4 separate regions of the Homo sapiens genome follow, and all the other regions are linked to region 2. Evidence: promoter capture Hi-C in 16 types of primary human blood cells and fetal thymus (Javierre and others, 2016). All regions are on one chromosome and are shown on one strand. Each heading gives the region's core, a stretch centred on a gene start or on the middle of the fragment in contact. The rest is flanking DNA. Distances are from core to core; before and after follow the strand shown. Region 1 overlaps DLGAP5 (DLG associated protein 5). Region 2 holds the start of EXOC5 (exocyst complex component 5). Region 3 overlaps MAPK1IP1L (mitogen-activated protein kinase 1 interacting protein 1 like). Region 4 overlaps FBXO34-AS1 (FBXO34 antisense RNA 1).

Region 1 (3,147 bases), core at 317-2,816, 2.1 Mb before region 2:
CTCTTGTGACTGGCTTTCTTGCTGTGGTAGATGAGACTGTTCTGGGAACCTGCTTTGCTGCTTGAGTAGCTGATCGAGTCATTCTCAACGACGTGGGCATTACAGGCTGCACAACTGTGGGAAAAAAAAATAACTACATCAAATGTCCCTTGTAGTTATGAAATTATTGCTGTGAAGCCAGGCATGGTAGTGCAATGCCTGTAGTCCCAGCTACTTGGGAGGCAGGAGGATTACTTCAGCCCAGGAGTTCGAAACCAGCCTAGGCAACATAGTGAGACCCCGTCTCTACAAAAAATATAAAAATCAGCTGGGCATGGTGGCAAGTCTGTAGTTGCAGCTACTCAGGAGGCTGAGGTGGGAGGATCACTTGAGCCCAGGAGGTGGAGGCTCCAGTGAGCTATGATTGTGCCACTGCACTCCAACCTGGGCAACAGAGCAAGACTCTGTCACAAACAAACGAACAAATTCCAGTTGACCTTCAAGACACTTAAAAAAAATTATGGCTGTGGTAGCCTCAGAGGATTTATAGTAATTGCTAATATTCCTACCTTTTTTCTCTTTGTCTGACACTTTCTTTTCAGAAGTTTGTCTTGGACCAGGTCGGATTGCTCGAACATCACTCTCGTTATCAATCTATTTAAGAGATTAGGTGCTATGTGATTTAATTGCATAATGAATCAGACCATCATATTTTTAATCTGTAAATTGATTCCTCATATGAAATCTGATCATCGTAAATGACCCAACAACAACAACAAAAAACTACCCCAAATAAAATGAGATAAAGAAAAGCTTTCCATTAAGCTTCCAAAAAAGCTTACATCCTTTTTCACAATCACAGAATTTGGAAAATGCTAATAACCCAAGCTATTAAAAACAGCTCACTATAACTTGCCTTCTGAAGGTCCTTAAACACTCCTAGACATACTTTCACTTCAAGACCTTTTAATTTTGCCTAGAAAATACTTCTCCTGGATAAAAAGCGCTTTCCCATGGTTCTCTTCTCCACTTCCATAATGACTTCACTCAAAAGGCTTTCATCTCAGGGAGGCCTTCCTTAACTGCCCAATCAAAATTCTACCCCATACCTATTTCTAGTACACCCCATCTCCCCTTTTTAAAATCTCTTCCATAATACTTATCATCTTCTGGCATATTATGTATTTTTTTAAATGCCTTACATGTAAGTTCCACAAAGAGAATTTAGTTTATTATATCCAAAAGCCTACAACACCAGGAACATCATAGCAATGCAAAATATATATGCATACGTGGAACTTAGCTTCCTCACCTGATAAAGAGGCATATTATTTCCCTTCTTGCCCACTTCACTTTGTTTTAGTAACCCTCCTGATATCTCTATTACAGTATTTTGAAGACCCGTAAGTTTATAACACCTACCCTGTGTGCTTTCCTCCCCATATGCATTTCATGCAGGTAACTTGGAATGCATAATAGGAGCCCACTAAACAAAACAAGAGTGTGACACAAAGACAGTTTGCCATGGATCTCATACGGAATGTTGGAGCAAATATTTTAAGTGAAATTGCTCTACATCACCATACTAAAAACAGTGACTTTGGTACCTGTTAACTCTAGTAAATTAATCATTATGTTTGAATCTGATACTAGATTTAAAATGAATTTACTTACTAAAAAAGTGCAATTTATCATTTTAGTAACAATTATCTACTATCAACTATACCTTAGTCTGCTCCATTTGGTCTTTGGCCTTTGACCTTGTAATCCGTACAGAAGATGGAATAGCCTTAGAACAGTCAAAAGAAGATGAACTTAAAATATGAACTGGTAAAGGTTTACTTCCATATCTTATTACAAAATAAAGTTCCCATTTTAAAGTTAAATTTTATCCTTAATCTCTTATAGCAAAAAGATACTTAAATTCCTTTTTCTGGTTCTAGCTTGATTTAAATTAAGTTAGTAACTTCAAAAATTACTCACATTTCTCAGTGAGAAAGAAATTTCAAACCGTATTTTCCAGGTATTGGAATCATCATTAATATGAGCTTCTATCCTCTCTTAGTTCTCCTGCCTCTCTGACCAGTCCTCAGCCTGGTACCTGGCTTCTGCCTACCTAAAAGTGCTCTCTAGAGCCCACTTTTTCATAATTTTATATATCCTTATTGGAATGGTCTCATTTAGTCCTACAGCTTAAACACTCATCCATATTCCCAATATTATATCCTAAATCGACATCTTAGCACCAATTTCCATCCTTCTTTCCAAATTTTTACTAATATCTAGGTGGCCCACACAAGTTTAAGATTTTTAAAAAGGTTATTAACATGCACCCACTTAAGCTTGTTCCTTATCTTCCTTATCTCTTTTAGCAGCAGAGCTTCTCTCTGCTTTTTCAATTTCCTTTACCCCTCACCATCTACTTGGCCACCAGTCCTGTCAAATGCCTTTATTTAGATGTCTTACACCTATTTTTTCCTTTTAAAACCCACTGCCCCTTTCCATCTATTCTATTACAATAGTCTCACAATTGGTCTCCCTATCTATAAATGCTTCCCTTTCCAGACTAAAATCTTTAGGGCTATGGTATTTTCCTGAATTATTAATTTGACAACGGCACTACCCTTATTTATAAACTTCTCCTGATTCTGCAAAACCTACAGGATAAACACCAAATCCTTTGCATAACATTGTTCAGCCTGATTCTACCAATTTTCCTAGTTTTATCCTATCTCAACTTACCTACAGCTATCTTAAGAGACCTGATTTTCATTCTTCTGAGCTACTATTATGTCATTCCCACCTTCTACCAACCAGTTAATAATGAGACTAAGGGAAAGGGGTTAGTCACTTAATGTCTTGAAGAAAATACCAAATAAAAGAAACTATTCCTTTATATTAAGACACTAAATTTACCTTTTTTGGCTCAGCTTTCACAGCATTCTGGTTTGATAAAAGAAAACAAGGCATATCAGGTCTATAACGACCCACTTTAAATATTCCTCGTTTAGCTTTCTCTCTCTGCTCTTTCAATTTTTGAAGTTGCTTTTCTTCTTTGTATTTTTGGAGCATCTGTTTTCGTTGATCACCTAGAATAGTTTTCATTGCCCCTAGGCAGAAAAAAAACCAAAACCACACAGTATATAAAACATTTCAGATGAAAAGTTA
Region 2 (3,040 bases), core at 241-2,740:
AAATGTAAATTTCCATTTGTTATTAAAACTGTGGCATTCAAATTGTAAGCCACAAAAACTGCTGAATCTTACGCAGAAAAAGGATACCATTTTCACTTATGGAGAAGTTCCCTATTGTGGATTACAGTCTTCTCAATTATTACACTTTTGTTACTCAATGTGAAACACAAGCACACACACAAAAAAGGGGTCTTTCTTTCCTTTTTCTTATCCGTTTTCATTTCTTTCACACAAGGAGATGCTTTATACGTGTCATTGTTTTGTAGCCTAATTAGAGTTTTCCTATTCTATTATCTCAAACTTTTATCACAGCTTCTTACAACGGACTTCACGAAATTAAATTTTAAGGTTTAGATACTGTAAACGCTCGAGGAAAGACATTAGTATTCTCACTATTACATATTAAGGATTCTCTAGCTTGCAGTTAGGTGATTTTATAATACATGTAAATGCATATAATACACTTAAGGTGCATTATATACATGAAACGAAGTGTTCGTTTTATTTTATAAACTTTTTTTATTTTATAATACACGTAAATGCCTCGAGTGTATTATTATGTATTACATGAAATAAAGTGTTCACTTGAATTTTGCCTCCCTTCAGTCTATCTCTCTTCAGTCGAAAGAGATAAGTAGGCCTTTATTGTCCAAAAAAAAAAAAATTGTCCCAGCCTTTTCAAATGTCAGGTTAAACTGGCAGTCCTATGAATGCCACCTGCAACCTTACTAATGGAATAATTACTCAAAACGAGAAGCCCCCAAGAGTCCCGATCTCAAGTGGCTTCCTCCTATTATTCCCGCGAGGACCCCAGCGACAAGACTCGCCCAACCTGAGGCTCCTGGCTCTCTTTCCTCGTCCTGAGTCAGCCCTTCCCACTACTCATCCGGAGTAGACATCTTCCAACACCCGAACCTTCCAGACTTTCCCTCTTGCCCCCACAAACAAAAGCAACCCTCCTCCCTTGGGACACCCGGCTTCCCCTCTCTGCCGACCGGCCGCCCAGCCCACCTCGGCCCCAAGCACCCCTCCCCCATTTCACGCTCCGCCCGCGCTGACACGGAGCTGCCACCCCAACCCTTCTGTTTCGCACCTCTCTCCCGAGGGCTCCTCCTGGGCAGCCAGCAAACGCCCGCTCCTCGGCCCGCCCACCCAGCTGCCTGCAAACCCCGGGCCTGCCACTCCCTGTAGAGCCGCCGGGGCCCACCTCGAAGAGCTCGGCCGTGGTAGCCATCCCGGCCGGCTGAGAGGCTCGCCCCCCACTGGATGCCGTCTCCGCTTCACATGCTGCGCCTCAGAGGCGCGGCGCACAGGTCTCCGCTCGGCTCGCCAGCTCCGGCTCCGGGCCGCTGCGGGCTCCCCAGCTCCCCACAGATCCCAGGAGGGGCGGGAGAGCGGCCATGAAGCGAAGCCGCAAACGCTTGTCAGCTGCCTCCCGGCGCCGCCCGCGCTGCTCCCATTGTCACCGCCTCATACGCCGGAAGTGGAACTGCGCGCGCCAGGGAGGTTGTCGGGAGGGGCCGGCGAATAAAACGAGCGGCGAAAGAACCGAAAAAAGGCTCGACGCTACCGTGTATGAGGAACTTTGATCCTTGCGGGCCACCATTCCGGAAGTAGAATTTAGAGGAAGAAAATACCGGAGTTGCAGGGTATAGGTAAATTTCTCAAGGTTATAGGTTGGGGTTCTTAGAACTTTTTGTGGTGTGTGTTGGCCTAGAGCGACTCAGAAGCGTTAGTGACTTCACCTAAAAAAGCTAACCTCTCTGCTGAGCGCGACCGGTATGCGGCGCAGGATGAGCCTCAGGGCTTCTGTTAAGAGTCTGTCTGAGAAAGCCGGTCTGCGCTGTTCCTCGGTGGCGACCTTAATTATGAGATGAGCTAATGCTTTACTGACTTAACCATGGCGCAGCGGGCAGTGTGGCTCATAAGCCACGAACCGGGAACTCCACTTTGTGGCACCGTGAGATTCTCCAGGTAAATGCAAATCTGAATCCTCAGGGATGATGGATCAGAAGATCGATGAAGTAGCATAGTTTTGTGGTGCTTCGTGGCCCAGGTTTGCCACGAATAGCTGCGTGACCTTGGGCTAGCCAGTTAACAGACCTCTGTTTCGTCTGTTAAATGGAGATTTTAATAGTCCTACCTTACAGTGTTGTGAGAATTGAGTTGATGACTGGTACATATTATTTACGGTATATGTTTTCTATTAGTATTGTGTTTTAAAATGACCTCCGTCTGCTTAGAATTAAAATGGAGATGACTAAGGGAACGGTAGAAAATTTACTGAGCACTAAACATTTTCAGATTTTTCAACATGCATTGACAAAATCGTTCCAGAACATTTTAACTTATTCTACTGAAAAATCCATGCTAAGTTATATCAGACTTTTATTTTTTTGTTTTTATTTTTTTGAGACGGAGTCTCGCTCTGTTCCCCAGGCTAGAGTGCAGTGGTGCGATCTCCGCTCACTGCAAGCTCCGCCTCCCGGGTTCATGCCGTTCTCCTGCCTCAGCCTCCCGAGTAGCTGGGACTACAGGCACCCGCCACCACGCCCGGCTAATTTTTTGTATTTTTGGTAGAGAGGGGGTTTCACCGTGTTAGCCAGGATAGTCTTGATCTCCTGACCTCGTGATCCGCCCGCCTTGGCTCTCAAAGTGCTGGGATTACAGGCAGGAGCCACCGCGCCCCGCCCAGGCTTTTATTTTTATCTTGTTAATATGTGTCAATGGTAGAAATCATCAGTTTACAGTTCCTAATTGTTGAAGAAAATAGAAACACAAAAAAATGTATTCACTATTTCATATATTGTGTTAAGTTGATCTGGTCCCACTATTAGAATTTGCCCTGTGTAATCAAAATAGCTCTGTTAAGGGAATTGTACAGTAACTCATTGTAAAATGTTGGTGGCAATCGAGTGGGTCTATTTCACCTTTTATTCTCTGGCCATTGATAGTTCTTTTTTGTCACAATTCGTTCTTCCCTGAAGAAAGCTTATAGTGAAGTAGTACCATAGTAGAATTGAGATTGAGGCAGAAAAAA
Region 3 (3,422 bases), core at 302-2,801, 2.2 Mb before region 2:
AAGTATAATAATTTTGCTAGTGACCCATACTGTCCAGTGTGCCCTAAATCATACTGCTATTGTACTCCCTTTGTTTTCAAGGACTTTGCAACTGGTATTTGGGGGAGATTTTTTTTTTTTTTTGAGACGGAGTCTCGCTCTGTCGCCCATGCTGGAGTGCAGTGGTGCTATCTTGGTTCACTGCAAGCTCCATCTCCCAGGTTCACACCATTCTCCTGCCTCAGCCTCCCAAGCAGCTGGGACTACAGGTGCCCGCCACCATGCCCGGCTAATTTTTTTTTTTTTTTTTTTTTAGTAGAGATGGGGTTTCACTGTGTTAGCCAGGATGGTCTCGATCTCCTGACCTCGTGATCTGCCCGCCTTGGCTTCCCAAAGTGCTGGGATTACAGGCGTGAGCCACCACGTCCGGCCGATTTTTTTTTTTTTTTTTAATGTAAGAATGGAGATAAAAGGGATAATATAATTTGCTTTTATATTGTTATTTTTGTAAAGCATCTTTTCTTCAATTCTTGTTGGCATTCTGGGCCAAAATATTTCAGGTTGGTTCGGTGTGGAGTTAAGAAAAGCAGGCGTTTTAGTGGAGAAATGGGGAACAGCATCAAGAAAGGCTTTTTTCCTTTTTTCTTTTTTTTTTGGAGACAGAGTCTTGCCCTGTCACCCAGGCTGGAGTGCAATGGCGTGATCTTGGCTCGCTGCAACCTCTGCCTCCAGGTTCAAACGATTCTTCTGCCTCAGCCTCCCAAGTAGCTGGGATTACAGGTGCCCGCCACCACACCCATTTTTGTATTTTTAGTAGAGACGGGGGTTTCACCATGTTGGCCAGGGTGGTCTGAAACTCCTGACCTCGTGATCCGCCTGCCTCAGCCTCCCAAAGTGCTGAGATTACAGGCGTGAGCCACCATGCGTGACCTTTTTTTCTTTTTAAAAGGGAACAATGTTGCTTTCAAAACAAGACATGCTAGGCTGAAACTGATTTATGGAAAAGACTGCTTGTTAGCAAGTATATTTGGTCTTGAGGGGGATACAGATTATAGAATATGCTGACATTTGGGCTTCAGAGGAAGAATTTTCAAATCTAATGGAAATAGTTGAGGTGTTCAGGAATGCTGTTTCTTGGAGTTGGAAGCTTAGGTTTTGAAATGTTGAAACCAAAAAGACAAAAATTAAAACATAGACCTTAGGTCGTCATTCACACCCGGTTCTCAAGAATCAAGTGGAGCACTTCAAAGACCTTGGCTTGTCTGTCCCATCCTGCCACTTTCTCATCTTTTCATGCTTTTGAAGACACCATTTACAGCTCTGACTCAGCCCTATTTTGTGTAAAGTAATATATTGATTATTCAGAAATAGACAATACATTTTTTAATTACCCAAGGACTGACTGTTTTGTGCATTTTACTGTTGGTTGTCTTCAGTAGAGAATAGTAATAGGGCAGAGAAAAGTATATATTTTGCCTCAGTCAGTCCCACCACCACAATGGACTATTGGGATATTTTCTAAAAAACCAATCAATTTGCCCATGATTACCTCACAAATAATTAGTGCTACCTGGGGTACTCTCAAATATACAGCTTTTGAAACTGTAGATGAAAAAAGCTCTACTCAGAGTTTTTGTCAAGACTGTGCCTGGGTTGAATATCAGTCAATTGCCTACACTTCTAAACAATAAGTGCCAATGTCTCAATTTTCTCACCCTGAATGATAGAAGCTAGCTTTATCAAATGCCAAGGTTAGAAAGCCTGGAAATAAAACTTAAGCACAGACATTCAAGTTTTTGAAAAGCATAAGCCTAAATTCAGATAAATCACACTGATATATTGTACTATGCATAGAAAGTTGTAGGTGGCGTTCAGGGAAGACTTTGATTTTAATAAAGCAATATTTAGTATTGAAGACAAACACTTTTTATTTTCAGATTTCTGCCAAGTAAAACAGAAATTGCCAATAAAATAATCAGTATTTTGTAAATGGCAGGCAAGCTTCTGGCTGTCGAAAACATCTGAGTCATTTATTCAGTAGACAATATGTCCTTGATCCAGGTTCTTTGCCAGCTATAAGGGAATCCCTGTCCTTGAGAGGCTCATAGTCTATAAGTAACATTACAGAATTTGTTAGCATACCCATTCATTATTAGTTTTACCTAAACGTGTTAGGATCACTACTGGTGGAAATTGTAACCAGCCTTTGGGCATCTTAAAGGGTGACATGTGGCATGCCTTTTTTTTTTTTTAAGAATTTAATGTTTTTCAAGATTGTAGTGTTGATCAGCGCAACAATTCAAGTGTGCAAAGTAACAGGATAGTTTGCCTCTTCACTTTACCCCTGGATAAAGGCACTTTCACTGCCTGTCACTGATCAGCAGATACTGACTTGTTGCCATTAAGTGAACTTGACTTCTTATGTGTGCTCTATGAGTTTGTTGTAATTTTCTTCTTGAAATTGTGATTTTTCACTGACAGTAATGACAAATTTAATGTATGTAATTGTCTATGCATTTTAAGTTAAACTGCCTAAAATGTGATTTGAGACATATACATATGTTTGTATTATAAATTGTAAGCAATCAGTTTGAGATACTAGGTTTTATCACCTGCTGCTGTATTTGTAAACAAAGACAAATGTTGCTTTAAGAAGTAATTATAATTAGGAATAGGCTATGGATGTGATACTTGGTATTTTTTAAGATAAACTTGTTTGCTTTTGTGTATTATACCTGGAAACTTTTTTTAAAAAATGTATTTTCATGGTTTCACAGATTTTTCATGTTATTTTATTCTTTAGGCCCAATTCTGGGCTTCTCTGAGCAAGTCCAGAGCCTAATTAACTGTAAATTTGTTGTCAAAAAGGAAGAAAAAAGGGCCTGAGATACCTCTTTGCATGTGACCTGCATTCACTAAGGATATCTGGAAACCACCCTTCCTCCGCAAACCCTCTCAGCAACATGGTGTCCATTGTGGTGATTTTCTCTTCTTTTAAGGCTAGGCTACTCTTGGTAACCAGATTATCCGTATATATGATAATATGAAGTCAGGGAACTTTCTCTGTCTGTCCCTACTCCCCTCACTCCCCCACTTTCTGTTATGAAAGATAGTTCTACTTTTATCATTAACTGCTACGCATTTAGTGAGGGTCACATTATTAAACTTGGAGTTTACCATTTTCCCACAGGAGATTTCGCTGGCATTCCTTGGAACTCCCAATTTCAGTAGGGCAATGAATGAATGAATACTTTGCAGTGCTACTTTTGGAAGGAATTTCTGCTTTTTGCCTTATGATTGGACAAAATGCAGCTGTAAAATTTTAAATTGTTTTTGATATGTTATTCAATATCCCATGAAAGTATTCACCTAAAGTGGAGTTATGAAATGGATGGTGAAATAATAAGACCATTCTGGAGCAGGGCCAGTTTCTTTTTTTCCTG
Region 4 (3,085 bases), core at 408-2,907, 2.0 Mb before region 2:
GTTAGCCGGGATGGTCTCGATCTCCTGACCTTGTGATCCACCTGCCTCAGCCTCCCAAAGTGCTGGGATTACAGGCATAAGCCACTGCGTCCGGCCAGAATTTCTCCTTTTATATGCTATCAGAAGTGAAATATGGGCACAGTGACTTATACCTGTAATCCCAGCATTTTGGGAGACTGAGTTGGGAGGATCATGTAAGCCTGGGAGTTTGAGACCAGCCTGGGAAACATAGGGAGACCCCATCTCAACAACAATAAAAAATTAGCCAGCCACAGTGGCGAGCATCTGTGGTTCAAGCTACTTGTAAGGATGAGGTGGGAGGATCACTTGAACCTGGGAGGTCAAGGCTACAGTGAGCCGAGTTGGTGCCACTGCTGCCTAGCCTAAGTGACAGAGCAAAAACCCTGTCTCAAAAAAAAAAAAAAAAAAAGAGAGATACCTATGGAAATTGTGTGGCTCACTGTATTGACAGTGTAGAAACCACCTTCTGAATGTTCTGAGGGCAATACTGTGGGGATAGGAGGATCTGGGACCTTGATTTGTTTCCCATCCATTGTACTGGAAGGGCTGCCCTTGCTCTACATGTCTCTTACACCGCCCCACCATGAGAGTGCAGATCACTATAAGATAAGTTAATCTAAGGAACTTTTAAAAAAATTAAAATTATCTTCTAAACTGTCTGTATATATCAGGGTGTGCTTTTTTACTTCTGCTAAGAGTCTCCAAAGAGACTCTTGATTTTTAGCTCTTATCAGATTTTCACAGGGGCACAAGATCTAAAAAGAAGGATAAGAAGGATAAGAACTATGATTTCCTGGGTTTCAATACTTATTCAACTTTATGTCCCTCACCATCCACATCTTAATTATAAGATAGAATCATATCTGTTAGACAGTGTGCTGCCTTGGTGCTCTAGTTTTCCCTGAGTTGTTCTATTTATTGTGGATAATATTTATATTCTCATGGCTGAGTAGCTCCTGCCCATCCCCCCGTCATCACCAATGAGCTTCACACATGCATAAACCTGGGCATAAGCTCAGGGCTTGAAGCATGCTCCAACGGCCACATTCCAGGCATATTTTTTAAGTACATGCTTTACTTTTGCAAAGTTGAAACTTTTAAAAGCACTTCTGCTTCTCTTTTCTTATTTGGTCTTTATAATAACACAGTCAAGTAGGTAGGGAAAGGCATTATCACACCCAGCGGCCTAGGTTCTGCAGCAAAGTAGGTCTAGATGCAAAGTCTAATGGAGCCTGTCTCTTGGTTTCCTTTCTCCAGCAGCGGGGAAGTAAGTTTGATAAGGAGGGTTGGGGGGTGAGAGAGAGAAGATGAAATGGTGGGTGTCCTAGTCTGTTTTATGCTACTATAACAGAACACCTGAGACTGGGTCATGTATAAAGAACAGAGATCTATTTCTTACAGTTCTGGAGCCTGGGAAGCCCAAGGTCAAGGGGTTCATAACTCTTGAGGGGCTTCTTGCTACATCATCCCATGGTATAAGGTGGAAGAGCAAGAGAACACCTAACAGAGTGAGAGATAGAGAGGGCCAAGCTTGCTTTTATAGTAACTCCCTCTCTTGATAAGTAATCCACTCCCTTGATAATGGCATTAATCCATTCATGAGGACGGAGCCCTCATGACCTAATTGCTTCTTAAAGGTCCCGCTTCTTAACACTGTTGCATTGAGGATTAAGTTTCTAACACATAAACTTTGGGGGACACGTTCAAACCATAGCAGTGGGTGTTTTTATTTGGAGGTTGGAGTAAGCTTATTAAGGAATAAGCAGTAAGTTCTTAGTTTTTTTTTTTTTTTTTTCTGAGCAAAGAACAGAAATGAAACCAAGTCTATACAAGACAAATCCCTTGAACTGAGTTTTAATTAATATGTTTGCTGGCTTGAAACAACTAAGTTTTAATTACTAATGGAATAACCAAATATATATACTATATATATTTAGAACTTTTCTGCTGCTGTGCCACCTCAGTCTTGTTCTTCTTTCGGCTCTCACCAGTCCCATGGCCTCAATGTGCCACCCCATGCCCACCTGGGGAGCACCTTCCTGAAGACCTACCACAGGACCTGTGGGTTGATAAACTATACTGGCTCTACTGGCTTTGCTTCTAGGGGATCATTGCCATTATACAAATGGAGAAACAAAATCAAGGGAAGTTCTTGCCTAACATGGTTATGCTCTCTCCTAGTTCTTTTCTCCTAGACTGGGGCTATTTAAAGTGTGGTTCACTGGCCAATCTGAGACAAGAACTGAAATTGAGAATCAGATTTTAGAAACTTTACTAGCAATTTGACAGAATAATTTTATGTCTGTGGACTTTAATAATCAATAATTCATAGGCTAGGCATGGTGGCTCACTCCTGTAATTCCAGCTATTTGGGAGGCTGAGAAAGGAGGATTGCTTGAGGCCATGAGTTTGAGACCACCCTGGGCAACATAGTGAGACCCTGCCTCAAGAAAAAGATGAAAAAATATAATAATTAATAGTTCGGGCTTTTATTATGTCTTTTAAAATTAATTTCATTTTTATATCAATTTTTTGAGTCCTCTAATCAACAGGAATCAAGTTTTGTTTGTTTTTTTTTTTTTTTTAGATGGAGTCTCACTCTTGTCGCCCAGTTAGGAGTGCAGTGGTGTGGTCTCAGCTCACTGCAAACTCCACCTCCCAGGTTCAAGCGATTCTCCTGCTTCAGCCTCCCAAGTTGCTGGGACTACAGGCGTGCCCTGCCACACCGGGCTAATTTTTGTATTTTTAGTAGAGATAGGGTTTCACCATGTTGGCAAGGCTGGTCTTGATCTCCTGACCTCAAATGATCTGCATGCCTTGGCCTCCCAAAGTGCTTGGATTACAGGCGTGAGCCACCATGCCCAGAAGGAATCAAGAGGTTTTAAGAAGGACAGTGTTTGAGATGAATCTGAAAGGATAAACTGAAGTTTTACAATTTTGAGCTAACTATGACATAAAGAAGCTTCAAATGATCATGATATATTGAGCTAATATTGCTCACATATTAAATCAGACATACAGTTTGATGCCACGGTGTACCATATAACACCCTTCCTTAATTTTT

What was found. The method cuts DNA at HindIII sites, captures the fragments that hold promoters and counts their contacts. A CHiCAGO score of 5 or more calls a contact.
Region 1: a contact is called between a fragment that was not itself captured here and the fragment with the promoter of EXOC5 in region 2, in 3 of 17 cell types (fetal thymus, total CD4 T cells and naive B cells). The highest score is 9.6, in fetal thymus.
Region 3: a contact is called between a fragment that was not itself captured here and the fragment with the promoter of EXOC5 in region 2, in 1 of 17 cell types (fetal thymus). The highest score is 7.1, in fetal thymus.
Region 4: a contact is called between a fragment that was not itself captured here and the fragment with the promoter of EXOC5 in region 2, in 7 of 17 cell types (fetal thymus, total B cells, monocytes and 4 more). The highest score is 12.8, in fetal thymus.

Annotation. Positions count from the first base shown.
Region 1 is chr14:55,180,665-55,183,811 of GRCh38, forward strand. DLGAP5 (DLG associated protein 5) reads right to left here. Exons shown (of 19, transcript NM_014750.5): 3 at 2,896-3,089; 4 at 1,706-1,768; 5 at 549-633; 6 at 1-114. Among named protein-coding and RNA genes, the nearest start is that of DLGAP5, 9.3 kb to the right of the region's middle. The HindIII fragment of the contact is 1,505 bases long and covers 815-2,319 here.
Region 2 is chr14:57,267,415-57,270,454 of GRCh38, forward strand. It overlaps EXOC5 (exocyst complex component 5), which reads right to left and starts at 1,491. Exons shown (of 18, transcript NM_006544.4): 1 at 1,208-1,491. The coding sequence starts at 1,234. It overlaps AP5M1 (adaptor related protein complex 5 subunit mu 1), which reads left to right and starts at 1,557. Exons shown (of 8, transcript NM_018229.4): 1 at 1,557-1,974. The coding sequence starts at 1,901. RefSeq lists a silencer at 922-981 and enhancers at 1,291-1,874, 1,522-1,721. The HindIII fragment of the contact is 4,317 bases long and covers 1-2,989 here.
Region 3 is chr14:55,066,793-55,070,214 of GRCh38, forward strand. It overlaps MAPK1IP1L (mitogen-activated protein kinase 1 interacting protein 1 like), which reads left to right. Exons shown (of 4, transcript NM_144578.4): 4 at 1-3,402. Among named protein-coding and RNA genes, the nearest start is that of MAPK1IP1L, 17 kb to the left of the region's middle. The HindIII fragment of the contact is 854 bases long and covers 1,125-1,978 here.
Region 4 is chr14:55,266,985-55,270,069 of GRCh38, forward strand. All of the region lies in intron 1 of FBXO34-AS1 (FBXO34 antisense RNA 1), which reads right to left. Among named protein-coding and RNA genes, the nearest start is that of FBXO34, 2.9 kb to the right of the region's middle. The HindIII fragment of the contact is 217 bases long and covers 1,550-1,766 here.